Regions from separate parts of the Homo sapiens genome. Here all the other regions are linked to region 1. The links are contacts of gene promoters, found by promoter capture Hi-C in human tissues and cell types (Jung and others, 2019). All regions are on one chromosome and are shown on one strand. Each heading gives the region's core, a stretch centred on a gene start or on the middle of the fragment in contact. The rest is flanking DNA. Distances are from core to core; before and after follow the strand shown.

Region 1 (3,416 bases), core at 29-2,528:
TGTTGCCCAGGCTGGAGTACAATGGTGAGATCACAGCTCACTGCAGCCTCAATCCCCACGGGCTCGAGCGATCCTCCTGCTTCAGCCTATCAAGTCGTTGGGACCATAGGCGCACACTCCTTTATTCCCAGCTAATTTTTGTATTTTTTGTATATATGGGGTTTTGCCATGTTGCCCAGACTGGGACAAAGGTTTATAAAGGAAAAAAAAAATTTTAAATGAGGATTACATCATTTTTCAGAAATAATTATCCTTGTCTACAAAGATCAGTAACAAGGGTCACACCAGTCTGAGTGTCCCTGTAAAAGTATTTTTTGTTTAAGCCTGTGGTTTTTGTAGAGTCTTTTTCGTTATTAAGCATATAAATGTGAGACCTCTCTCTTCATGACCTTACGTGGTTCTGTTTGTGGGAGGGCTGCTTTTTTTTTTTTTGAGACTCAGTTTCGCTCTTGTTGCCCAGGCTGGAGTGCAGTGTCCTGATCTTGGCTCACTGCAATCTCCGCCTCCTGGGTTCAAGCGATTCTCCTGCCTCAGCCTCCGGAGTAGCTGGGATTACAGGCGCCCGCCACCGTGCCCAGCTAATTTTTGTATTTTTAGGAGAGAAGTGGTTTTCGCCATTTTGGTCAGGCTGGACTTGAACTCCTGACCTCTGATGATCCGCCGGTCTCCGCCTCTCACGGTGCTGGGATTACCGGCGTGAACCACCGCGCCCGGCCGAGAGTTTTAAGAACACAGGGAGCGCCTGGTGGGGTCCGGCCTCCTGGGGCCTCGTCGTCTGGTCTCCAGATCTCCAGGTCTCTGGACCCCAGGCGTCCGCGCCCACGCGGGACAGCACGGTGACGTCACGCACGCGGGTCCCGCCCCCACGCAGGACTCCGCCCCATGGGACTCCGTGCCCTTCCTCTCCTCCCCGCACGAGGGGCCGCTCCGAGGGGAAACTGAGTCTGGAGTTGCCGTGCAGTCAGGGAGGAGGACGCCGCGCCCTCCCTGGACTGGAGTGAGTTCTCCCAGATCCGCGGCTGCCCGGCTAGAGGGTCAGCCACGCGTGTTCTCGACGAGCCCGTCACTGAGGAGAGAATTATCCAATCAGGACAGGCAGGGGCGGGGCCTAGGGAACTGTCCAATCAGAGACGTTAATCCGAAGCGGAGCCCTGCCCAATCAAGGGCGCTAGGGGGACGGACTGGAGAATTCTCCAATCAGGGGTGCGGAGTCGACAGCACTGTCCAATCAGAGTCTCCACTTCCCGAGATCTGTCCAATCAGACCCCGAGGACGGTAAGCCGAGTTCCCCTCTGCCTTGCGCGCTTCCCCGCCTACCCCGAGCGGCTCAGGTGTCCTGTCGTGCTCACCTGCGCCGGTCGCTGGACCGCGGGGCGCTAACCCTGGAGAGCCCAGGAGCGGGCGGGACATGGTGAGTGCCGGGCGGGAGCCGAGCCCGGGCCCAGGGCGAGGTGGGGCGGCAGGAACCGGCTTCCGCCCGAGTTCGCAGCCGGAGAAAGCTGAGGGACGCGCGGGGCGGCGCACGACGAGCGCCTGGGCCCCGGGGACGTGGTCACAGCGGCCGAGGGGTAGGGCTGGGGGCAGTCTGGGGTGACAGCAAAAGCGGTCAGGGGCTCGAGGGGTAGTTTCTGGGGACAGTACAGGTCAGGAGTTTGGGGAGAGCTTGTGGGGACAGCAGAGGTGGTCAGGGGCTTGAGGCAATTTAAGTGGACAGTAGAGGTTTAAGGGGCACAGGGGCAGTTTGCGGGAACAGACACGGTCAGGGGCTCGGCGGCAGTTTGGGGGTTCAGTGGAAGGGAGTCAGGCTCAAGGGCAGATTAGGGGGCCAATAGCAGCGGTCAGGAACTCGGGGACAGTTTGAGGGGGCCGTAGAGGCGGTCATGGGTTTGAAGGGGCAGTTTTGGGGGACAGGTGATCAGGGGCTCGAAGGCAGTTTAGGGGGACAGTAGCTGCAGTCGGGAGTTTGGGGGCAGCTCGAGGGGACAGCAGAAGCAGTCAGGGGCTCAGGGGCACTTTAAGGGGGGCAGTAGAGGCGATCAGGGGCTTGAGGGAAGTTTGGGGGGACAGTAAAGGGAGTCGGGCTCGAGGGATGTGTTGGGGGACAGTAGAGGCAGTCAGGGGATCGGGGAGAGTGGGAGGAGAGGGCAGGAGCCGTCAGGGGCTTGGTGGTCAGTTTGGGAAGGTCTGCCAAGGAGGAGGTGGTGCCCTGTCCTGGAGCCTGTCAAATAATAAAATCCTGGGCCGGGCGCGGTGGCTCACGCCTGTAATCCCAGCACTTTGGGAGGCCGAGGCGGGCGGATCACCTGAGGTCAGGAGTTCCAGACCAGCCTGGACAACATGGCGAAATCCCGTCTCTACTAAAAATACAAAAATTAGCCCGGCGTGGTGGCGGGCGCCTGCAATCCCAGCTACCAGGGAGGCTGAGACAGGAGAATGGCGTGAACCTGGGAGGTGGAGCTTGCAGTGAGCCGACATGGCGCCGCTGCACTCCAGCCTGGCGACAGAGAAAGACTCCGTCTCAAAAACAAAAACCAAAAAAAAAAAAAAAAAAAAAAATCCTGGCTAGAGAAGGAGAGAGAAAAATAGGGATAAGCCCCAGCCTCCGAAACCTGCCAGGTCTCAAAATCAACCAGGAAAAGGCTTTACTTTCATACACAAGAAAAGGTTTGGAGGAACGTTTTAGGGGACAAGCAGAAAGGAGGTTGACAGTAAATGTACCTCCTCGTGGTCAGCTAGCTCAGGGGAGGTGACAGGGGACTCCACACTTACTGCTTGCTCAGACTCGGGGGGGCCAAAGTTCAGGGGCCTGCGGAGAGGACAGAAGGCTGAGTAAAGTTTGGGGAAGAAACGGGAGGCTGCGAACATGTGGTCAAGCTTGTGTAAACCCAAACGTAGTAAGGAAACTTTTATGAAAAAGGATTATTGCGAGGTATTGGGGGAGGGGGAGAAGGGGCTGTTGCAATAGGGAGAAGGGTTAGTTGGATTAGAGGCAGGAGAGTAATGCCAGAGGCTTGAGGTTCTATTGCAGTGGGGTGGGGGTATAAGCAACAGGGGCATGGGGACAGTTGATGATTGAGCTGCGGGACTAATGCTGTAGCCACAGGGAGACAGCTGCAGGGGGAGAGCTCTGTGACCGTCAAGTATGCAGGCATCTGAAGAGTTGGCTAGGCCTGGCGCGGTGGCTCATGCCTGTACTCCCAGCACTTTGGGAGGCTGAGGCAGGTGGATCACCTGAGGTCAGGAGTTCAAGACCAGCCTGGCCAACATGGTGAAATCCCATCTCTACTAAAAAATACAAAAATTAGCCGGGCGTGGTAGTGTGTGCCTGTAATCCCAGCTACTTGGAAGGCTGAGGCAGGGAGAATTGCTTGAACTCGGGAGGCAGAGGTTGCAGTGAGCCATGATCACACCACTGC
Region 2 (3,401 bases), core at 802-3,301, 940 kb before region 1:
GGAGGTGGAGGCTGCAGTGAGGTATGATTGTGCCACCACATTCCAGCCTGAGCAACAGAGTGAGGTTCTATTTCAGAAAATAAAATAAAATAAAATAAGGCATCTGGCTGGTGCGGTGGCTCACACCTGTAATCCCCAGCACTTTGGGAGGCTGAGATAGGAGGATCGCTTGAGCCTGGAAGGTCAAGACCAGCCTGGGCAACATAGCAAGTCCCCATCTCTTAAAAAAAAAAAAATACAAAAATTAACCAAACATGGTGATGGGTGCCTGGTGCCTGAAGTCCCAGCTATTCAGGAGGCTGAAGTTGGAGGATCGCTTGAGACCAGGAGGTCGAGACTGCAGTGAGCTATGATCATGCCACTGCTTTCCAGCCTGAGCAACAGAGACCCTACTTCAAAAAATAAAATAAAAGATAAAGCATCTGGCTGGGGGCAGTGGCTCACACGTGTAATCCCAGCACTTTGCGAGGATCGCCTGAGCACAGGAGGTTAAGACCAGCCCGGGCAAGATAGCAAGACCCTGTCTCAAAAAAACCAAATACATGAAGCATCTAAGGCCCCCAACTCTCATGGCATCCAGGCTGCCTCTCTGTGGAGTAGGTTACCTGCAGCCCCCCAGCATAGATATCGGGTTTGCATCGGGGACAGGGGACTGTGGCTTAGCAAGGAAGGACCCAGAGGCAGCCTCAGCCAGATGAGGAAGTGGGGGGAGGGGACGGCTAAAACTAGACCCTCCCCCGTACAGGGTGAGCGTTTCTCACTCGATTCTCTGTCCTCAATGTCGTCATTCATGCTTGGAGGAGGGACAGTAACACGCAGCATGGAAAAAAAAAAAATCCCTCCTGGATGCTATGGGGTCGGGGGGGGGGCGGTGGCAGCAGCCAGCCAGGCCCTTCCCGCGAGGGTAAGTTCTCCTCGGCAGTAGAAACGCATTTGCTCTCCGGAGGAAGGGGTCTTCGCCTCTCCCTTCCTTATACTGAGCTGGGTGTGACCTCAGCCCCCAGGAACACTCCCACCAGCCCCGCCCCCGACCCCCACCCCCTGCCAGCTGCAGCCACAGGCGTTGACTCCACAGTCTTCTAAGGATGGGGTGGGGTGGGTCCTCAGTGGGCCCCGGACACTCCTGCACTCAGATCCTGGCTTCGCATTTGGGGACGGCCAAAAGAAGACAGTGACATCAAGGAACGGGAGTGAAGCGCTCATTTGAGCCCTGATGTCTGATTATTAACAAATCACATACGAGTTCCAATAAGGAGGAGGCATCTGTGTCTTAAACCATAAACCACCCCCTTCCTCCCCACCCCACAGGACAGCCTTTATCGACACACTTAGATTTTTTTTTTTTTTTTTTCCCGAAATCGTCGGCTGGTGGCCTTCCTAGCGTTATAAATAGGAAATACATAGGGCTAGGATGGGTCTATTTCAGCGTCCCAGAGAGAAGCTGAGGTTTTCATCCGCCCGAGCTCTCAGCGTGTCCTGAAAATGGTGCACTTAGAGGGGAACGGTGCGCGCGGAAGGTAAACTGTGTTGCTGGGCGCAGCTCAGGGAACGGTTTTCCCTGGTACCGGGAACAGGGATGTGAGGGCCTTCACGGAGTCACAAGACCGTGGCTCTCTGCTCCCACCCGCCCCATCTGCTGGAAAGGGATTTAGAGGCGGCAAAGGCTGCCGGATAAACCTTCCAGGGAGACGGTTTATCCTGGGAGAAGGGGAGATGCGCGCACTCACCTCTGCAGCTGAGACAGCCTCTCCTCCTTACTGGCAAACAAAGGCGAGCCCTGCCCGGGTGCAGCTGGGCATCGCTCACGCTCCCCGGGCCTTCAGAGCCTAGGAGGAAGAGGATGCTCGCAGGGGCGGATTCTGCATCCGAGGAAGGTCACCCAGGGCGACGTGGCCAGCGCCCGCCAGCTCTTTTGTGCAGGGGTGGGTGGGGTGCAGGGTTAGCGGTGGGCTCCCCAGCGCGGGGCTGCGGCTGCGCCCCCTCTCATCGCCGCCCGCCTGCGCGCCCTGCCTCCGAGGTAGCTGCTTCTTCCCAGCTCAGGGCTGGCAGAGGCTCGGCTTCCCGAAGACGGTTAATTTATGCTGCTTTTGTGTGCAGGGAGGAGGGGGTGGGGGGTGGCGGCCTGACGGAAAAGCACAGCCCCCTGCCAGAATCCGATCCTCCCCATTGGCTGACAGACAAGCATCTCCGAAAGCCACGCCAGGGGCAGAGGCAGAAATAATTTTCTGATGGCGCATCAGAGATTTAAAAACAAAACAACGGACAAATAAATAAATAAATGGCAAGATGGCCTCATTCCTTAGAGAATGGGGGGTGGGGGAGTTGGGAAAGGTCTTCTTGGCACTTCTCCTTGCAAAGGGAGCAGGGGTGAGGGGTGGCATCCCCCAAAAAGTCTGTGCAGGCAAAGAAATGACTGTCCCCAGGTCGGATGCCATGGCTCACGCCTGTAATCCCAGCACTTTCGGAGGCCGAGGAGGGAGGATCACCTGAAGTCAGGAGTTCGATACCAGCCTGGCCAACATGGTGAAACCCCGTTTCTACTGAAAATACAAAAATTAGCCAGGCGTGGTGGCGTGCGCCTGTAATCCCAGCTACTCGGGAGGCTGAGGCAGGAGAATCGCTTGAACCTGGGAGGCGGAGGTTGCAGTGAGCCGAGATGGCGCCACTGCACTGCAGCCTGGGCGGCAGAGGGAGACTCTGTCTCAAAGAAAAAAAAAAAAAAAGAAAGAAATGACTGTCCCCAGGTCACCGTGTTGTGGGTCCATTAGATGGTCACTTACCATTGATTCAGCCTCGTGCCCTAAACAGGGCTGGGTGCAGGGGAGGCGGAAGTTTCTCAGGCACACTCACTTTGCAGGGCTGCTGTGGGAACGGCGCCCCCTGCAGTTGTGCGCTGGCGTGGCCTCGCCCTGGAGGAATTCAAGGAGACTGTGGAAGATGGTAGGGTGGAGAGTGCAGGCCGTGCAGTCGGACTGGAAGTGGGTTTGAACTCTAGCCCAGCCACTCCCCAGCTGGCAGACCAGTGGGCATGAGTGATCTCACCTGCGGGCCTCAGTTTTTCTCATCTGTGAAATGGAGCCGCTATGGCTTTTCCACATTATGAGATAATGCATAGACAGCACTAAACACAGTGCTGGGGCACAAGAAAAGCTCCCTATGTGTTTCTTTCTCTTTCTTTCTTTCTTTCTTTCTTTCTTTCTTTCTTTCTTTCTTTCTTTCTTTCTTTCTTTTTTTTTTTTTTTTAGGTGGAGTCTCGCTCTGTTGCCAGGCTGGAGTACAGTGGTGCGATCTTGGCTCACTGCAACCTCCGACTCCCAGGTTCAAGTGGTTCTCCTCCCTCAGCCTCCCAAGTAGCTGGGATTACAGGCACACACCACCACACCTGGCTAATTTTTTTTTTG
Region 3 (3,150 bases), core at 366-2,865, 640 kb after region 1:
GTTACACACACAGGTTCCCGAGGCCTCCTTCTCACCCCTCACTTGGGACAAATGGCATCTCCCAGCCTTGGTTTGCTCATCTGTGAGACAGGGAGGCTAAATGTGGCTTTTAGAAGATGCAGTGAGGGGCCGGGCATAGTAGCTCACGTCTGTCATCCCAGCACTTTGGGAGGCCGAGGCGGGTGGATCACCTGAGGTCAGGAGTTCGAGACCAGCCTGGCCAACATGGTGAAACTCTATCTCCCCTAAAAATACAAAAATTAGCCAGGCATGGTCATGGGCGCCTGTAATCCCAGCTACTTGGGAGACTGAGACAGGAGAATCGCCTGAACCCGGGAGGTGGAAGTTGCAGTGAGCCAAGATTGCACCACTGCACTCCAGAATGGGTGACGAGAGCAAAACTCCATTTCAAAAAAAAAAAAAAAAAAAAAAGACAAAAAAAAAGGTAAAAAACTTTCCATGAGCACTCGCAGTGCACTTGGTGTGTGCGCTGCTGTGTGCTAGGCGGAAGGCACATTGGGGAACAAGCCCATTAGACAAACTGAGAGGCTCCAAGCTGCTCGATGGAGGGACAGAGAGAAAGGCTGTCCAAGCTGGGCACAGCGAAGATCAAAGGCCTGGGACTGGAGGGACTTGGCCTGTTTGAGGAAGGCTGAGGGGGTGGAGCCCGGGAAAGAGTGAGTGAGGACAGGCCAGGGGGAAGGAGGTGGTGCGGCAGACCAAACAGTGCAGGCAGCCGGGCGGTGGCTCACACCTGTCATCCCAGCACTTTGGGAGGCCGAGGTGGGTGGATCACCCGAGGTCAGGGGTTTGAGACCAGCCTGGCCAACATGCTGAAAATCCGTCTCTAATAAAAATACAAAAATTAGCCGGGCGTGGTGGCGGGTGCCTGTAATCCCAGCTACTTGGGAGGCTGAGGCAGGAGAATCGCTTGAACCCAGGAGGCGGAGGTTGCAGTGAGCCAAGATGGCACCGCTGTACTCCAGCCTGGGCAACAGAGCAAGACTCCATCTCAAAAAAAAAAAGAAAGAAAGAAAGAAAGAAAGAACGAAAGAAAGAGAAATTCCAGGGTAGGTGGGGTGCAGACGGGACCCTCACGGCAATAGGGAATCACGGCAGGTTCTGGAGCCCAGTGGCTAAGCTTCCTCTGAGGGGCTTCCTCTGAGGGCCACATAAGGAATGGGCCTGGGCTGGGCTGTGGCAGATGTCCAGGTGCAGATGGTGGCGGCCTGGACTAGGGGTGGGGGACGGGGGGCAGAGGAGGCGATGGTAGCTTCCAGAAGGTTCCACACGGAACAACCTGCTGCACTTGGGGTGCCCCTGCGTTTATTGCACGGCACGGCCGTCTCCGCAGGCTCACCCAGGCCGTGGGGACAGGAGGTCCTCGGACACGAAGCGCCCGGGATGCGCACGGAGGGGTTCTGCACCCGCGCTCCCAGTGTCCCCGCACCTGCGCCCACGTGGCCTCTCACACCTGCGGCCCCAGCCGCCGCGCACGCGGCCCAGCGCAGCCCCCGCGCGCCCCCGCCAGGCGCGCCGAGGAGACCGGCGGGCGGTTGCGCGCGGCGGCGGCGCGCACGGCGGAGCCCGGGAGGCGGCGGCGGCGGCGGCGGCGGCGGCGGCGGCTGCTCGTGTCGGCTCCGGGCGGCCCCCGCGCCGCAGCCCGCGCCGTGTCCGCGGCGGAGCCGCCCAGGTGAGTGGCCGTGCCGGGGCCCGGCGTGGGGCGCGCCCGCAGACCTGGGGACCCCTCACCTGCACCCTGCGACCCTGCCGCCCAAAGCCCCCAACCCGCGACCCCATCCTCAGCCGGGGGAAATTGCCCCGCGCACCCCTCCCGGGCTCATCGCTCCTTGCCAGGCCCCCGACGCTCCCCCTGGAAACTTTGGGGGCGAACTCCCCACCCTGGGGCCCCCCGCCCCTCCTCTGGGGCGCCAAGGAGCGGGGAATCGGGTGGGCATCTCCCCGGGGCACTGGGGACGCTGGGAGGATGCGCTCCTCTCCAGGAGGAGATGAAGGGGGCACTGGTTGGGTCTGGGGTGTGGGGAACGTCCGAATAGAGCCTGCAGCCCGCGCCTTCCTGCCCTGTCTCCCCCGAGCCGGGTCTGGTCCAGCCTGGGGGTGCGGAGCTGGAAGACGCAAAGGGTATCTGGGGTCCACACCGGAGCCTGCTCCATCGCTGGAGCTGACGGCCCGGCCTGGCGGGGAGGGACCTGGGGGCATAGGGCTGAGTCCCCCTGCTCTGGGGGCGTCTGAATAGCACCAGAAATGGTGGGCCTGGGCACCCTGAGTGGGTGCCGCCACCTCCCGGGCCTCTGGGGCCTGGCCAGGGGAGGCCCTGAGTCCCATTCAACAAGTTTAGGGGAGCAGCACCTCGTGCCTTGGTCCGGGCACAAGAAAAGCCCCGGGTCCTTACGCTGGAGACCACCATGTAACTGGGTTTCTCAACGTGTGCTTGGGGCGCTAACGGTGCCGGTGTCCCGGCCCCCCCAGTTCTGAGGAGTCAGAACTTCTGAGGCGATGTGCCCCAGAAGCTGCATTTTAGCAAGCGGTCCCTGGCTAAACCATGGACGCAGCGAGGCTGCAGACACCCTTGCTCCGGCGGGGGTGGGGAGCGGGCGTCTGCTGTGCAGTGGTATTTGCAGAGGGACGATCTGGGGCTTGGCTGGGGGGAGCCTTCAGGGACAACAGAGCTGTGAGAACCAGAGCAACCCAGGAGGGCTCCCTGGAAGTGGCCTGGAGAGGATGCAGAAGGTGTGAGGTGTGAGTGGTCAGGTGGAGGACGCAGGCTGGAAACAGGTTCAGGGAGGGTGGTGCTGGCTTTATCAGGAGGCTGGTGTGGGGTGGGCTGCCGCGGCATGGCCTTACCCTGGCTGTTCTCTGAGCCGAAGCAGCAGCCATCGTCGGAGACAGGATCTGAGTGGGAAGAACCCACGGGCTTCCCCTGTAGACCCAGCTCCTGTCCCCATCTCGATGATGTGGGGTGGCAGGAAGGGGGCAGCCGGGCGGTGGGATGGGGGCTTAGGAGGGTTCAACTCAGCCTTCCCTGCCCTGCCTGTCTGGTCTTCACCGGTGACTTCCGGCAAATGACGTCCCCTCTCTCAGATCCACCCCACATGGGATTAAATGAGATGCTGCCCACCTCGGCTGCAG
Region 4 (3,309 bases), core at 473-2,972, 620 kb after region 1:
CCTCGTCTCTACTAAAAAAAAAAAAAAAAAAATTTAGCCAGGAGTGGTGGCATGCACCTGTAATCCCAGCTATTCGGGAGGCTGAGGTGGGAGAATTGCTTGAACCGGGAGGCAGAGGTTGCAGTGAGCCTAGATCATGCCACTGCACTCCAGCCTGGGCGACAGAGCGAGACTCCGTCTCAAAAAAAAAAAATAGATCTGCTTCGGAAAAGCCTTCCCAGGCAAACTGAGTCCCTCTCTCCACAGAGTTCTGTGATCTTTCTTCCACCTCTGGCTTTCCCCCTCCTTCCAAATGTCTGGGGAGCTCTAGGTGCCTGGCTGCAGAATGGGGGGAGTCCAAAGGGGGCTGACAGAGCAGCTGGGGGTAGGACTGGGGTTCTCAGAAAGCTTCCGAGGGGGCCCGACAGCCTTGCAGAGACCAGGGGCATCTCAGGGTAAGAGAAAAGACTAGAGAGTGAAGCGACTGCAATGAGCTGCAGGCTTCCCCAGCAGCCAGGTCACAACTGGACGGCGCACTCATCTGGATGCGACACGGTCTGACATACTTTGAAAGGGTCACCCCTGCTGTGTCGAGGATGGACTGGGGATGTGGTGGACAAAGGCAGCCACAGCAGAGGGATAGCGGTGGGGCTGGAGGAGTGGAGACTGAGGAGCCAGGTGGCGGCGACGCCTTAAGAGTGAGAACTCTGAGGGGGTAGTGAAGGTTAAGGGCTGCATTTGTGGGGCTGCTCCAGGTTCCATTGCCTGAGCCACCGAACTCAGGAGAGAGGGAAGATTTGGAATTAAGAAAATAAAAGATGCAGTTATGACAGTGCGATCTCGTAGACTGTCCCCACTAGAACCTGACACTCTTTACATCAAATGACACACAATGAACATAATGAAGGCCTGTTGGCCCTGGGCGCTGGTCACCCTGGACAGAACCTCCAGAATCCACACCATAGTCGGTCCTCCTTCTGCACACGAATTCCATCGTCCAAGGTCACGGAGTAAAAGATGGAGCGGGGATCCGACCCCAGTGCAGGGCTGGACTCCTGGCCGCTCCAGGATGCTGCCAGTTACTGGGGGACGCGCGGGACGCCTCTGGGTTCCCCCACCGCACCCCCTAGGGTGAGGTTAGCTTAGCACCGTGCCCGTTCCGCCTAAGGGGAAACTGAGGCTCGGAGAGGGGTGGGCAGCCGCCTGCTCAAGGCCACAGAGCCGGAGAGAGGCGTCCCCGGCGGCAACTGGAGACCCCGAAACGGAGAAGCAGAACCGGAGGATGGAGGGGGCACAAATTTCAGACCCGGTGGGAAGTGAGTGGCGCTGCAGCGGCGGAGGGCCTCCGAGGCGGGGAAAGGAGAGGAGCCGGGGACAGACCCGCAAGGTCACGGCCGAGCCCCGGCACCGCCGGCCGACAACGCGGGGACGGCGGATCCCCGAGGCTGGACCCCCAAGACGGGCCGAGCGGGGTCGTTCCTGCGCGTAGCCCGGGGACAGAGAGGCCGAAGGGCCGCAGCCCGCGGTGCCGTCGGGACCGGTGCCGCGCTCACCTGGGCCGCGAGGAGCAGAAAGGCCGCCAAAAGCCGCGCCAGCGCAGCCGCCACCGCTGCCGCCATGTCGGCCGGTGCCCGCCGCAACCAACGGCAGATGTTTCCCAGCAACGCCCCGAGACCCCGGGCCACGCATGCGCCGCGCATGCGCGTGGGGGAGGTCAAAGGGCGCGGGGCGGTGCCTGCGAAGAGCCACACGGCGCGACAAGATGGCGGTGAGCGCGCGGCGGAATCTGGAGCCGGGGGGCGTGGAGCTCGGGCCGCGCTCCAGGTCTCATGCGCTCTGCTTTCCCCGCAGGATAAGGAGAAGAAGAAAAAGGAGAGCATCTTGGACTTGTCCAAGTACATCGACAAGACGATCCGGGTAAAGTTCCAGGGAGGCCGCGAAGGTGAGGAGGCTCCCGCTGTCGGTACCCCCTCTTTAAAAATTTCAAATAAACCCAGCAACAGAGATGATGAGGACGCATGCGGAAGCACCTCTTTTATTTATTTTCATTATTTTTTTTGAGACGCAGTCTCGCTCTGTCACCCGGGCTGGAGTGCAGTGGTGCGATCTCAGCTCACTGCAACCTCCGCCTCCCAGGTTCAAGTGATTCTTGTGCCTCAGCCTCCCGAGTAGCTGGAATTAATGTGTACCACCACGCCCGGCTAATATTTGTATTTTTAGTAGAGAGGCCATGTTGGCCAGGATGGTCTCAAACTCCTGGCCTCAAGCGATCTGCCTGCCTCAGCCCCCTAAATTGCTGGGATTTCAGGCATGAGCCACCATGCCCAGCCTAGCATTTTTGACTGGGCAAGTGAGCTGCCTTCTCCTAGCCTCCGTTTCCTCATTTGTCAAATGGGGCTGGTAACTCCACCCACTTCACAGGGGGTGGTGAGAATGAATGGTTACAGGCATGTAATGTAATTGAGGCAGCTCTCAGCAGGAAGTAAGCAGTCAGACAACACGTCACTTATTCAATAGCCTCTTGGATCTTTGGTTTCTTTTTTTTGTAAGACGGGGACCCAAACCTCTTTGTCCCTGGATTGTAGACAACTGGGTGGCATGAGAGTTATTAAAAATCACAGTGCCCCAGCCGGACGGGGCGGCTCACGTGTGTAATCCCAGCAATTTGGGAGTCTGAAGCAGGAGGGTGGCTTCACCCTAGGGTTTGAGGCTGCAGTGAGCTATGACCGCACCACTGCACTCCAGCCTGGGCCACAGAGCAAGGCCCAGTCTCAAAAGAGAAAAAGGAGGCCAGGCACAGTGGCTCATGCCTTTAATCTTGACACTTTGGGAGGCCGAGGCAGGCAGATCAGGAGGTCAGGAGATCAAGACCATCCTGGCCTACGTGGTGAAACCCTGTCTCTACTAAAATACAAAAAGTTAGCTGGGCATGGTGGCGCACGCTTGTAGTCCCAGCTACTCGGGGGGCTGAGGCAGGAGAATTGCTTGAACCCCAGAGGCGAGATTGTGCCACCGCACTCCAGCCTGGCGATAGGGCAAGACTCCGTCTCAAAACAAAAAGAAAAAGGAATATGAATAAAATGTTTTCTCAGTCTACACCATGCTGACTCCGGACATGGAAGGACATGAGTGAGCGGCCGCTCTTGCTGGTCACACTGCTTCCCTTTGTTTTCTGCCCTTCATAGCAAATCACCCATTTAGCAGCTGAAACAGCACCATTTTATTATCTCACAGGATCTGTGAGTCAGGAGCCAGGGTACCACAGCCTCAAGGGCTCTCAGGAGGTTGTAACTGAGGGTTGTTTTTTGGGGTCCATCATCTTGGGGTCTT
Region 5 (3,435 bases), core at 338-2,837, 640 kb before region 1:
GACCCTCCTCCACCCCAGGCATCCGTAGAACGCACTTCGGGAAGAGCTCCCGCCAGCCCACCCGCCTCACCGAAGGCCCTCTTGGGCTGCACCAGGCGCAGGGTGAAGGGCTGGGACTTGGGCAGCTCCCGGAGCATCTTGGCCACCTCGTAGTGGCGGCAGCCCACAATGGAGTGGTCGTTGATGGCTTCGATGCTGTCACCCACGCACACTGCCTCGATCCGGTTGATGATACTGCCTTCCTTGATTCTCTGCAGGGATCCAGCGTCGCTGGCAGGGCAACCCCAGCCACCCGCCTCCAATCCGCAGAACCCACGTCGACCCAGAGTGGGGGGGGCAGTTGCTGGACCCCAGGAAGCCACCCGCCCACCCCCTCCCGGGCACCTTGATGAAGGCGTAGCCAGCCCCGTTGTCCGTGATGGTCAGCCCCAGAGCATCCTCTGTCTTAGTGACCTCCACCTCCTTGGTCTCGCCTCGCACGTGGGCAAAGATGAAGTCCTCCAGGCCTATCTGACCCCCCAGGAGCTTCTGCATGTCCACTTTGTGGCTGTTGAGGGTGCAGAATAAAATCTTCCCGGGGGAGAAGGAGCCTAGAGTTAGCCAGGGCATGCATCCCCCCACGCAGCCACCCTGTCTGCGCAGGCCCCTGCCCCCAGCGACCAGGATCCCAGCCCATGGGAAAGGGCAGGGCGTGGGACCCCCAGAACAGAGAGAGGAGGGAGAAGGAGACTTCCAGCAGGTGGAGACCCCTCTCCATACCCCGGGACCTCCAGCCCCCAGACCTCCAGGTTTAATCTGCTGGCGCCCCCTGGGGGCTGCAAACCAAACGAACCCGGATTGGAAAAACGCCCAGGAACCCCCCAACCCCACGGCGGCCTCAAACTTCCCATCCCTAAGGGGGCCATCTGGAACCCCAGACCCCAGCTACGCCCAGGAAGCACAGAGGCGCTTCCCCGAGGGCTGGGGTCCGCTCCAAGCTAGGTCTGCGCAGAGGATTTTCTGGAATATCTAGGGGTCCGCTAGTCCTAAGACCTGCCCATCTTTTGCGCAGAGCGTGCAAAGGGGGCCCCTGGGAGTGTGGCACCCCGGGATCTGAGGGCTGGGTCTCTGAGATCCGGCGATTAGGCGGCCACCCCGACGTCTGGGATCCGGGGATCTGGGGTCTCCCGTCCAGGGTCCAAGCTCCCTACCCCTCACCCCATCAGGCGGGTGGTCTTGGGCGCCGGTGTCCGGGCTCCTTACCTCGGTGGGCGCGATCCCGAAGGCTTCGGCGATCTTGGCGTACAGCTCGCGGACGTTGGTGAAGCCCTCGATCTTGCCCGTGGGGCTCCCGTGCGCCAGCTGCGTGCGGAAGACGAGGCGCGGGCGGGCGCGGGGCGCGGCCGGGGGCTCCGAGGGCGCGGGCGGGGGCGCAGACGCGCGCGGGGTCTCGGTCCCCCGGGCCTCCCGGGCCGCTGCTCCCTCCATGGCGGGAGAAGTTCGGCCACCCACCCGGGCCCTCGCCGCCGCCGCCGGATCCGCCGCTTCCTGCAGCCTCCCCTCCCCCGGCCCAGGGCGCGACAGCCGAGACGCCCGGGTAAGGGGATCTGGGAACCCGAGCCTCCCGGGAAGGCGACACCGCGGGGTGCGCAGGGGTGGGTCGGGCCCCAGGTGTCCGGGCCCTGCCAGGGCCAGCTGTGCCCTCCCCGGGGATACCCGCAGTCCGGGGGGGCCTGAGCTCAGGACCCTGGAAGAACAGGGACCACAAATAAGGACAGGGACAGGCCTGGAGCGGTGGCTCACGTCTGTAATTCCAGCACTTTGGGAGGCCGAAGCGGGCAGATGACCTGAGGTCAGGAGTTCAAGACTAGCCTGGCCAACATGGTGAAACCCCGTCTCTACCAAAAATACAAAAATCAGCCGGACGTGGTGGCGGGCGCCTGTAATCCCAGCTACTCGGGAGGCTGAGATCTCTTGAACCCGGGAGGCGGAGGTGGCAGTGAGCTGAGATGGCGCCATTACACTCCAGCCTGGGCAACAAAGCGAGACTCCGTCGCAAAAAAAAAAAAAAAAAAAAAAAAAAGGACAGGGACAGCTGAGGGTGCTGGAGCACTCACCCTCTGCTAGGCGAGGTCATTGTTTTATTTTATTTTATTATTTTTATTTATTTATTTATTTTGAGCTGGAGTCTCGCTCTGTCACCCAGTTTGGAGTTCAGTGGCACGATCTCAGCTCACTGCAACCTCTGCCCACCAGGTTCAAGCAATTCTCATGCCTCGGCCTCCCCAGTAGCTGGGATTACAGGCATATACCACCATGCCCGGCTAATTTTTTTGTATTTTTAATAGAGATGAGGTTTCACCATGTTGGCCAGGATGGTCTTGAACTCCTGACCTCAGGAATCCACCCACCTTAGCCTCCAAAAAAGCTGGGATTACAGGCATGAGCCACCACGCCCAGCCTTTGGTTTGTTTGTTTGATTTTGGAGACGGAGTCTAGCTCTGTCGCCCAGGCTGGAGTGCAATGGCGTGATCTCGGCTCACTGCAACCTCCACCTCCTGGGTTCAAGCGATTCTCCTGCCTCAGCCCCCCTAGTAGCTGGGATTATAGGCGCACACCACCATGCCTGGCTAATTTTTGTATTTTTTAGTAGAGACAGGGTTTCACCATGTTGGTCAGGCTTGTCTCGAACCCCTGACCTCAGGTGATCCACCTGCCTTGGCCTCCCAAAGTGCTGGGATTACAGGCGTGAACCACCGCACCCGGCCGCATTCAGTTTTTTAAAATTTAATTTAGAAACATGATTAATTTTTTGTACAGTTGGGATCTCACTGTGTTGCCCAGGCTGGTCTCAAACTCAAGACCAGGAGGTTCAGGCCATCCTTCAGCCTTGGCCTCCCAAAGTGCTAGGATTACAGATGTGAGCCACTGTGCCCAGCTTCTCTTCAGCATTTAAAGCTACCATCTGACATATCAGATATTTTATTTTATTTTATTTTTTGAGACGGAGTCTCTCTCTCTTGCCAAGGCTGGAGTGCAGTGGCACGATCTCGGCTCACTGCAACCTCTGCCTCCCGGGTTCAAGCGATTCTTCTGCCTCAGCCTCCTGATTAGTTGGGATTACAGGCACCTGCCACCATGCCCAGCTAATTTTTTTTGTATTTTTAGTAGAGACGGGGGTTTCACCATGTTGGCCAGGATGGTCTCGAACTCCTGACCTCAAGGAATCCTCCCGCCTCAGCCTCCCAAAATGTTGGGATTACAGGCTTGAGCCCCAGCCCCCTGCTGATATTTCATTTCATCTTTTGTCCTGTTTGTCCCCAGGACTGGAGGAATGTCAGCTCCAGGAGGGTGGGGGCTGTTCCCCTGCTCTGTCCCCATGCCCAGTGTCCAGGGCACAGTGCCTGGCATACAGCAGGTGCCCAGTGATCTTTGGTGAGGAATGAACGGATGTCC
Region 6 (3,449 bases), core at 181-2,680, 820 kb before region 1:
CTTTCCAACCCGCGCCTGCGCAGTGAAACGCGTGGTCTCCACGTAACCACATCCTCCTCCCAGGCCGCTCCGCCCCAAGCTGGCGCCTGCGCCCTGGGTCCAATCGCTACAGTATCTCCGAGCCAGACGCCCGAGCTCCAAGCGGCGCTGGGTCCCTCAAACTGCGCCTGCGCATACAGCCTGGCATCCGCCTCTCTGCGCTTGCGCATCAGTTCTAGCACCACCTCCCCAACCACCGCCTGCGCACTGTCAATTCCTCAGTGCACCCACCGTCCCCATTTGGTTCCTCTTAACCCAGCTCACCTGGTTTCTTGGCATAATCCCGGGCCAGGAGTCTTCCGGAAGTGGCGGGGTTTAGGAGCTCCCAGGCCCCCCAGCCGGCCCACGTCCGGGTAGCCCCGAAAAGGCGTTTGGTCGCCATGACGTATTGCGGGCAGCTTGCAAGTGCACGTTTCCGGAAGACGTCAGTGGCCCAAGGGTGTTTGGGAGTTGTAGGCCCCGTGGAAGTGTAGGCCCCGTGGAGGTGTCTGGGAAATGCGGTCTCCCAAGCTTTCATAATCTATGGTGATTTCTTCAGACTTTTGTAGACATACACAGTTACTATAGGAGGAGGCGTTCAAGGGATATTTCATTGACTTCTTGCCCTTCTTCAATTACATAACATTTACTAAAAATATCACACTTTATATGTTCCTGATTCCATCCAATGAGTAATTATTCAAAGCTTTAAAGTTAAAAAAAGAAGATTAACAATGAGTCTAATATACTCCAGTAGGGCTGGAGTCTAATCACTGTTAATTTTTATAACATTATATTTTTAAAATTATATATAACATATATAATACATATAATATATAGTATGTTTTATATATAATATATAAATTAATAATATATATTTTATATATTCTTTTCCAGCTCTACTACTGCTAAATCCTTAACCCGCTTGATCTAATTTAATCCTCACAATTGAGAGGTAGGTACTATTTTTTCCCCAGCTTATAATGAGGAAACTGAGTTCTCAGGGAGGTAAAGTTCCCAGGCCGACCCCAAATCCATGGTGCACCTATGTGTCTCCCTACTGTGAGCCAAACCGAAAGTCCGTCTTTAACAGGGTCTCCACGACGCTTCCGGTGCCTCAAGGTCCCAAGGAAACCACCTCTCACACTTCTTTAATATTTCCCAACCCCACTTCTCCCCATCTGCCATCCTTTGGAATAATGAACACAGCCCCCAGAGCCAGGCAGTGATTATTAACCCTATTTTGCAGGAGAACAAACAGGTCCTGGGGCCAGCCGGGGCAGTCTGCGGGCCGGGAAGCCTGGGATTCGAACTCCCCTCCAACATCTGCAGTTGTCCCAGCGCCCCCGCGTGGCGAGGCTGGGTGGGAGAACTACATTTCCCAGCAGGCCTCGCGAGGCCGCGCATGCTCAATGGGCCAGGGCTCTGCGCGGATAGAGGAGCGGGCGCCGGGACCGGGAATCCCCGAGCTGCGCCTTCTGGGGACGCGGCCCGGGCTACGTCGGGGCCGTCCGTGGGGAGCGGGGTCCTGGAGGCTGCGCGGGGCTGAGGCGGCCTCGATTTGGGAAGTGAGTGTCCTCGAGGTGCAGAGCGCAGTCTGAGTCGGCGCTTGAGGTCTTCGGTCTGAGGGGGGACTAGGGTCTGGGCTTGGGGCTGGGTCCTGAAGTCGGGGTCTGAGTCTGGAGTCGATCTTGGGGTAGCATTGGAGGTTTGGAGACTGGGGTCCGCCTTATGGCGTCTTGGGTCTCTGGTATTAAGTCCAGGGTCCTGGGTCTAAAGTTCTGGATGGAGGTATTGGGGGTTGAGGTCATGGGACTGGGGTCTTGGGTCTGGGGTCTTGGGGAACTGCCTCTGACCAGTCGGTAGAGTCAGGGTGTGAGGTCTGGGTCTCCAGCCTGGGTTCCGCGTCTTGAGGGAGGAGGACCTGGAAGAACCAGGGCTGGAGTGAACAGACTCCATTAGTTGAGAGAGGTCTGGGATGACACAGGGGCTCGGGAAGCCACTGCCTCACACCTCCCCATTCTGTGGCTCAGTTTCTTCATCTGTAAAATGGGAATCCTAACTTCCTTGCAAGGGTTAGTGGGTATTAAATTATGTGCCCTGTATGAACAGTACCCAGCTAGAGCCTAGCACCGGATAGGCAGCCGGGAAACCTCAAGTTTTTTGTTTTTCGGGTTTGTTTGTTTTTTTTAAGACAGGGCCTCACTCTGTCACCCAGGCTGGAGTGCAGTGGCACAATCAAGGCTCACTGCAGCCTCTGCCTCCCCTGGTTCAGGTGATCCTCCCACCTCAGCCTCCCAAGTAGCTGGGACTACAGCCTACACCACCACCCCTAGCTAGTTTTTTTTTTTTTTTTTGGAGATAGTCTCGTCTGTCGCCCACCTTGGAGTGCAATGGCGCGATCTCAGCTCACTGCAACCTCCGCCTCCCGGGTTCAGGCGATTCTCCTGCCTCAGCCTCTTGCGTAGCTGGGATTACAGGTGCCTGCCACCACACCTGGCTAATTTTTTGTATTTTTAGTAGAGACGGAATTTCACCATGTTAGTCAGGCTGGTCTCAAACTCCTGACCCCATGATCTGCCCGCCTCGGCCTCACAAAGTGCTGGGAATTACAGGCGTGAGCCACTGTGCCCGGCCTTAATTTTTTGTATTTTTTGTAGAGAGAGGGTCTTGCTCTGTTGCCCAGGCTGATCTTGAACTCCTGGGTTCAGTCAGCCCTTCTGGGCCTCCCAAAATTCTGGGATTACAGGCATGAGCCACTGCACCCGGGCGAAACCTCAGTGCTGACTCTCTCTCTTTCAGCTGCCTGAAGATGCCGGCCTAAGCCTGGAGTCCAGGCATGGACTTCCCCACAATTTCCCGATCCCCTTCGGGGCCTCCAGCCATGGACTTGGAGGGGCCCAGGGACATTCTTGTGCCTTCGGAGGACCTCACCCCTGACAGCCAGTGGGACCCTATGCCAGGAGGCCCCGGCAGCCTCAGTCGGATGGAACTTGATGAGTCAAGCCTTCAGGAGCTGGTGCAGCAGTTTGAAGCTCTGCCAGGCGATCTGGTGGGCCCATCCCCAGGTGGAGCCCCCTGTCCCCTACACATTGCCACAGGCCATGGCCTGGCCTCCCAGGAGATTGCTGATGCCCACGGGCTCCTGTCTGCCGAAGCTGGCCGGGATGACCTGCTGGGCCTCTTGCACTGCGAGGAATGCCCGCCTTCCCAGACTGGTCCTGAAGAGCCTCTAGAGCCTGCCCCCCGACTGTTGCAGCCCCCTGAGGACCCAGATGAGGATTCTGACTCCCCAGAATGGGTGGAGGGGGCCTCTGCTGAGCAGGAGGGCAGCAGGAGCTCAAGCAGTTCCCCGGAACCCTGGCTGGAGACGGTGCCTCTAGTCACACCTGAAGAGCCACCCGCTGGTGCCCAGGTAGTGCCCGCCCCGC
Region 7 (3,322 bases), core at 309-2,808, 760 kb before region 1:
TCCTGACCTTGTGATCCACTCGCCTCGACCTCCCAAAGTGCTGGGATTACAGGCGTGAGCCACCGCGCCCGGCCCTCAATATCCCCATTTTACAGAGCAGGAAACAGAGGCCCGGAGAGAAGGGAGGTGTGGAAGCCAGATCTAACTGAGTCCACGGGTTTGCTCTCAAAACCCAGGCAAGGTGGGATCCATGTCGCCCACCCCCACGGACTCCCGAATCTCAAGCAAGCCTGCTCCCTGGGAGCTCTGCAGCCACACAGCCACAAGGTGACCCCAAATGCCGGGCCGCTCTGTCCCCCACTATGCGATCATCCATGCCTCCTCGGCCCCGGGGGACCCTCTTGGTTCTGGAGAGAGACTTGAGATGCAATCGGACACTTGGCTCACGAGGAAGCTCCCTTGGTCTTCCCATTTGGGAGCAAATGACCCAGAAAAACACTTTTGCTGCCGACCCCTCCCCTCTCTGGCTCTGAGCGCTCCTTCCTCCTTCCCCTCTGCCCCATCCCACAGAGATTTTGCTCGGAGGAGTAAAGATTAGAAAAAGAAGTCTGGGCGCAGTGGCTTGCGCCTGTAATCCCAGCACTTTGGGAGGCCGAGGGGGTTGGATCACCTGAGGTCAGGAGTTCGAGACCAGCCTGGCCAACATGGTGAAACCCCATCTCTACTAAAAATACAAAAATTAGCTGGGCATAGTGGTGGGCGCTTGTAATCCCAGCTACTCGGGAGGCAGAGGTGGAGGCAGAGGTTGCAGTGAGCCAAGATCGCACCACTGCACTCCAGCCTGGGCAACAAGAGCAAAACTCCGTCTCAAAAAAAAAATTAGCAAAAGAAAGGCCACCCCAATCCCTCCCTGCAAAGCTCCTGGAGGTTCCAGCGGTGAGAACAGGGTGAGGGGTTGGGGGGCGGGAGACGCAGTTGTTTCAAAACTTGGGAGCCTTTTAAGAAGTTCCAGGAGGCTCAGAGATGAGTGAGGTCGCAGCCTTTCCCACCTGTCACCTCCTAGCCTCGGGCTGCAGGAGGTAAACCCAGGCTCCGTCTGGACTGATATCCCCTCCCCTCCTCAGTTAGGGGGATCAGAGACCAACCTGTGCCCCTTTGCCGCCTCCCCGGTCCCTGCGCCACCTAGGTAACAATGACCCTTTTAAGTTTCCAGCTCAGCGTCCTGGGCAGGCCGCCAGGTGCAGTAACTGCCGGTCAGATAATCCCTACGAAACTATGTCAGATGCCCACGCAGGAGTGTCAGTTTCCTGCTTTCCGAGGAGCCGGGGAGACAGCTCGTGGTGGGGGAGGTTGGGGGGGAGTCTAAGGACCCTCAGCTGGGGAAGGCCAGCTCAGACAATGCACACTGGGTGGAAAAGCACAGTGGGGCGGGGGACTTACCTGTCTAGGAGGCTGGGTGGCCTCTGGGCAGGCAGCAGGTGCCAGGGCCCGGGTGCCTGCCTGGCACGGGTGGTGGGGAGGGAACCCGAGGCTTGTAGCTCTGGCCTCCCCACCTGTTTGACCAACTTTTCCTCTCTTGTGGTGGCAACAGGGAGGCAGGTCCCCTGCCAGTGGAACTGACGACCACAGACACAGGGAGACGGACCAGGGTGAGGGGCGGGCCAGCAGGAGGACTGGGTGTGTGGCTCTGTCGCAAGGTGCCCTCACGTGGGAGCAACTGGCCTTAACCCCTGCTTGCCCAGAGGTGAGCTTGCTCCTGCCTGTGCCCTCACCGCCGAGGCCCTGGTATCAAGCGTCCGCACATGGTAGGTGCTTAGGAAACCCTCGTTGGCTACATTCAGACATGAATGGACCGCACTCCCGGAGTCCCCCTCCCTCCTGCTTCTTGCATCTGGAGCTGCCCAGTCTCTGTGCTTGCTGAGCCTCCTGCCAGGCACGCCGGCCCATCAGGCTGTGGCTTGGCGCACTCCCTTCCCCACGCAGATCTGTGCGCAGTCTGCCTCTCTGCTACGAAGTGACTGGGTTCCTACGTACAGAAGCTTCTGCCACTTCCCCGCTGTGTGGCTTTGGGCAAATTACAGGGGCTTCTTGCTGTCCTCATCTAAAAAACAAGAAAGGGTCAGGTGTGGTGGCTCACACCTGTAATTCCAGCACTTTGGGAGGCCGAGGTGGGAGGATCACTTGAGCCTGGGAATTTGAGACCAGCCTGGGTAACACGGTGAAACCCATCTCTAGAAAAATTTTTATATATCTTTTGTTTGTTGTTTGTTTTGAGATGGAGTCTCCCTCTGTCACCCAGGCTGGAGTGCAGTGGCGCGATCTCGGCTCACTGCAACCTCCGCCTCCTGGGTTCAAGTGATTCTTCTGCCTCAGCCTCCCAAGTAGCTGGGATTACAGGCGTGCACCACCACGCCCAGCTAATTTTTTTTTTTTTTTTCAGTAGAGACGGGGTTTTCCTATGTTGGCCAGGCTGGTCTCAAACTCCTGACCTCAAGTGATCTGCCCGCCTCGGCCTCCCAAAGTGTTGGGATTACAGGCGTGAGCCACCGAGCCTGGCCTAGAAAAGTTTTTTTGTTGTTGCTGCTGGCTGTTGTTGGTTTTGTTTTGTTTTTTGTTTTTATTTTATTTTTTTTTTATTTTTTTGAGACAGAGTCTTGCTATGTTGCCCAGGCTGGAGTGCAATGGCTTGATCTCGGCCCACTGCAACCTTTGCCTCCCGGTTTCAAGTGATTCTCCTGCCTCAGCCTCCCGAGTAGCTGGGATTGCATTACAGGCACCAGCCATCATGCCCAGCTAATTTTTGTATTTTTGTAGAGACGGAGTTTCACCATATTGGCCAAGCTGGTCTTGAACTCCTGGCCTCAGGTGATCCGCCTGCCTTGGCCTCTCAAAGTGCTGAGATTACAGGCGTGAGCCACCACGCCCAGCCCAGAAAACTTTTTTAAAAATTAGCCAGATGTGGTGGTACACACCTGTAGTCCCAGAAACTCAGGAGGCTGAGGTGGGAGGATCAATTGACCCTGGGAGGTTGAGGCTGCAGAGAGCTATGACTGTGCCACTGCACTCCAACCTGGGTGACAGAGCAAGATCCTATCTCAATAAAATAAAATTAACCAGGAAGGGTTGGGCATGATGGCTCACACCTATAATCTCAGTACTTTGGAGGCCAAGGTGGCAGGATCACTTGAGGCCAGGAATTCGAGACCAGTCTGGGCAACATAGTGAGACACCCCCCCATCTTTACCAGTACATTAAAATTAAAATTTAAAAAATTAAGTCTGGGCTCAATGGCTCACCCCTGTAATCCCAGCACTTTGGGAGGTTGAGGTGGGAGAATTGCTTGAGTTAGGAGTTCGAGACCAGCCTGGCCAACATGGTGAAA

The links. Contacts are between HindIII fragments. The study calls those that stand out against the background at their distance.
Region 2: the fragment with the promoter of ATCAY here is called in contact with the fragment with the promoter of ZNF77 in region 1 in 3 of the 25 tissues and cell types used here (bladder, lymphoblastoid cells and mesenchymal stem cells).
Region 3: the fragment with the promoter of LINGO3 here is called in contact with the fragment with the promoter of ZNF77 in region 1 in 3 of the 25 tissues and cell types used here (heart left ventricle, liver and lymphoblastoid cells).
Region 4: the fragment with the promoter of LSM7 here is called in contact with the fragment with the promoter of ZNF77 in region 1 in 3 of the 25 tissues and cell types used here (dorsolateral prefrontal cortex, lymphoblastoid cells and mesenchymal stem cells).
Region 5: a contact is called between the fragment with the promoter of GIPC3 here and the fragment with the promoter of ZNF77 in region 1, in 1 of the 25 tissues and cell types used here (dorsolateral prefrontal cortex).
Region 6: the fragment with the promoter of APBA3 here is called in contact with the fragment with the promoter of ZNF77 in region 1 in 1 of the 25 tissues and cell types used here (dorsolateral prefrontal cortex).
Region 7: the fragment with the promoter of TJP3 here is called in contact with the fragment with the promoter of ZNF77 in region 1 in 2 of the 25 tissues and cell types used here (lymphoblastoid cells and mesenchymal stem cells).

What each region holds. Positions count from the first base shown.
Region 1 is chr19:2,942,833-2,946,248 of GRCh38, reverse strand. ZNF77 (zinc finger protein 77) reads left to right here and starts at 1,278. Exons shown (of 4, transcript NM_021217.3): 1 at 1,278-1,411. The coding sequence starts at 1,409. RefSeq lists an enhancer at 883-1,042 and silencers at 1,113-1,362, 1,503-1,582. The HindIII fragment of the contact is 6,632 bases long and covers 1-3,416 here.
Region 2 is chr19:3,879,335-3,882,735 of GRCh38, reverse strand. ATCAY (ATCAY kinesin light chain interacting caytaxin) reads right to left here and starts at 2,051. Exons shown (of 13, transcript NM_033064.5): 1 at 1,728-2,051. RefSeq lists an enhancer at 1,846-2,376. The HindIII fragment of the contact is 15,458 bases long and covers 1-3,401 here.
Region 3 is chr19:2,306,619-2,309,768 of GRCh38, reverse strand. LINGO3 (leucine rich repeat and Ig domain containing 3) reads left to right here and starts at 1,615. Exons shown (of 2, transcript NM_001101391.3): 1 at 1,615-1,693. The HindIII fragment of the contact is 18,961 bases long and covers 1-3,150 here.
Region 4 is chr19:2,326,999-2,330,307 of GRCh38, reverse strand. LSM7 (LSM7 homolog, U6 small nuclear RNA and mRNA degradation associated) reads left to right here and starts at 1,722. Exons shown (of 4, transcript NM_016199.3): 1 at 1,722-1,747; 2 at 1,831-1,921. The coding sequence starts at 1,742. It overlaps SPPL2B (signal peptide peptidase like 2B), which reads right to left and starts at 1,624. Exons shown (of 15, transcript NM_152988.3): 1 at 1,533-1,624. The coding sequence starts at 1,598. RefSeq lists silencers at 1,338-1,597, 2,618-2,717 and enhancers at 1,808-1,857, 1,868-1,917, 1,353-2,007, 2,288-2,347. The HindIII fragment of the contact is 22,122 bases long and covers 1-3,309 here.
Region 5 is chr19:3,583,630-3,587,064 of GRCh38, reverse strand. GIPC3 (GIPC PDZ domain containing family member 3) reads right to left here and starts at 1,587. Exons shown (of 6, transcript NM_133261.3): 1 at 1,243-1,587; 2 at 385-570; 3 at 71-251. The coding sequence starts at 1,467. The HindIII fragment of the contact is 10,668 bases long and covers 1-3,435 here.
Region 6 is chr19:3,759,673-3,763,121 of GRCh38, reverse strand. It overlaps APBA3 (amyloid beta precursor protein binding family A member 3), which reads left to right and starts at 1,430. Exons shown (of 11, transcript NM_004886.4): 1 at 1,430-1,586; 2 at 2,821-3,433. The coding sequence starts at 2,858. It overlaps MRPL54 (mitochondrial ribosomal protein L54), which reads right to left and starts at 440. Exons shown (of 3, transcript NM_172251.3): 1 at 304-440. The coding sequence starts at 421. It overlaps LOC105372248 (a long non-coding RNA gene), which reads left to right and starts at 482. Exons shown (of 3, transcript XR_936268.1): 1 at 482-564; 2 at 916-973; 3 at 1,268-1,368. RefSeq lists an enhancer at 77-566 and a silencer at 1,228-1,545. The HindIII fragment of the contact is 13,428 bases long and covers 1-3,449 here.
Region 7 is chr19:3,706,620-3,709,941 of GRCh38, reverse strand. It overlaps TJP3 (tight junction protein 3), which reads right to left and starts at 1,558. Exons shown (of 21, transcript NM_001267560.2): 1 at 1,381-1,558. RefSeq lists enhancers at 788-1,449, 1,450-2,113. The HindIII fragment of the contact is 5,666 bases long and covers 571-3,322 here.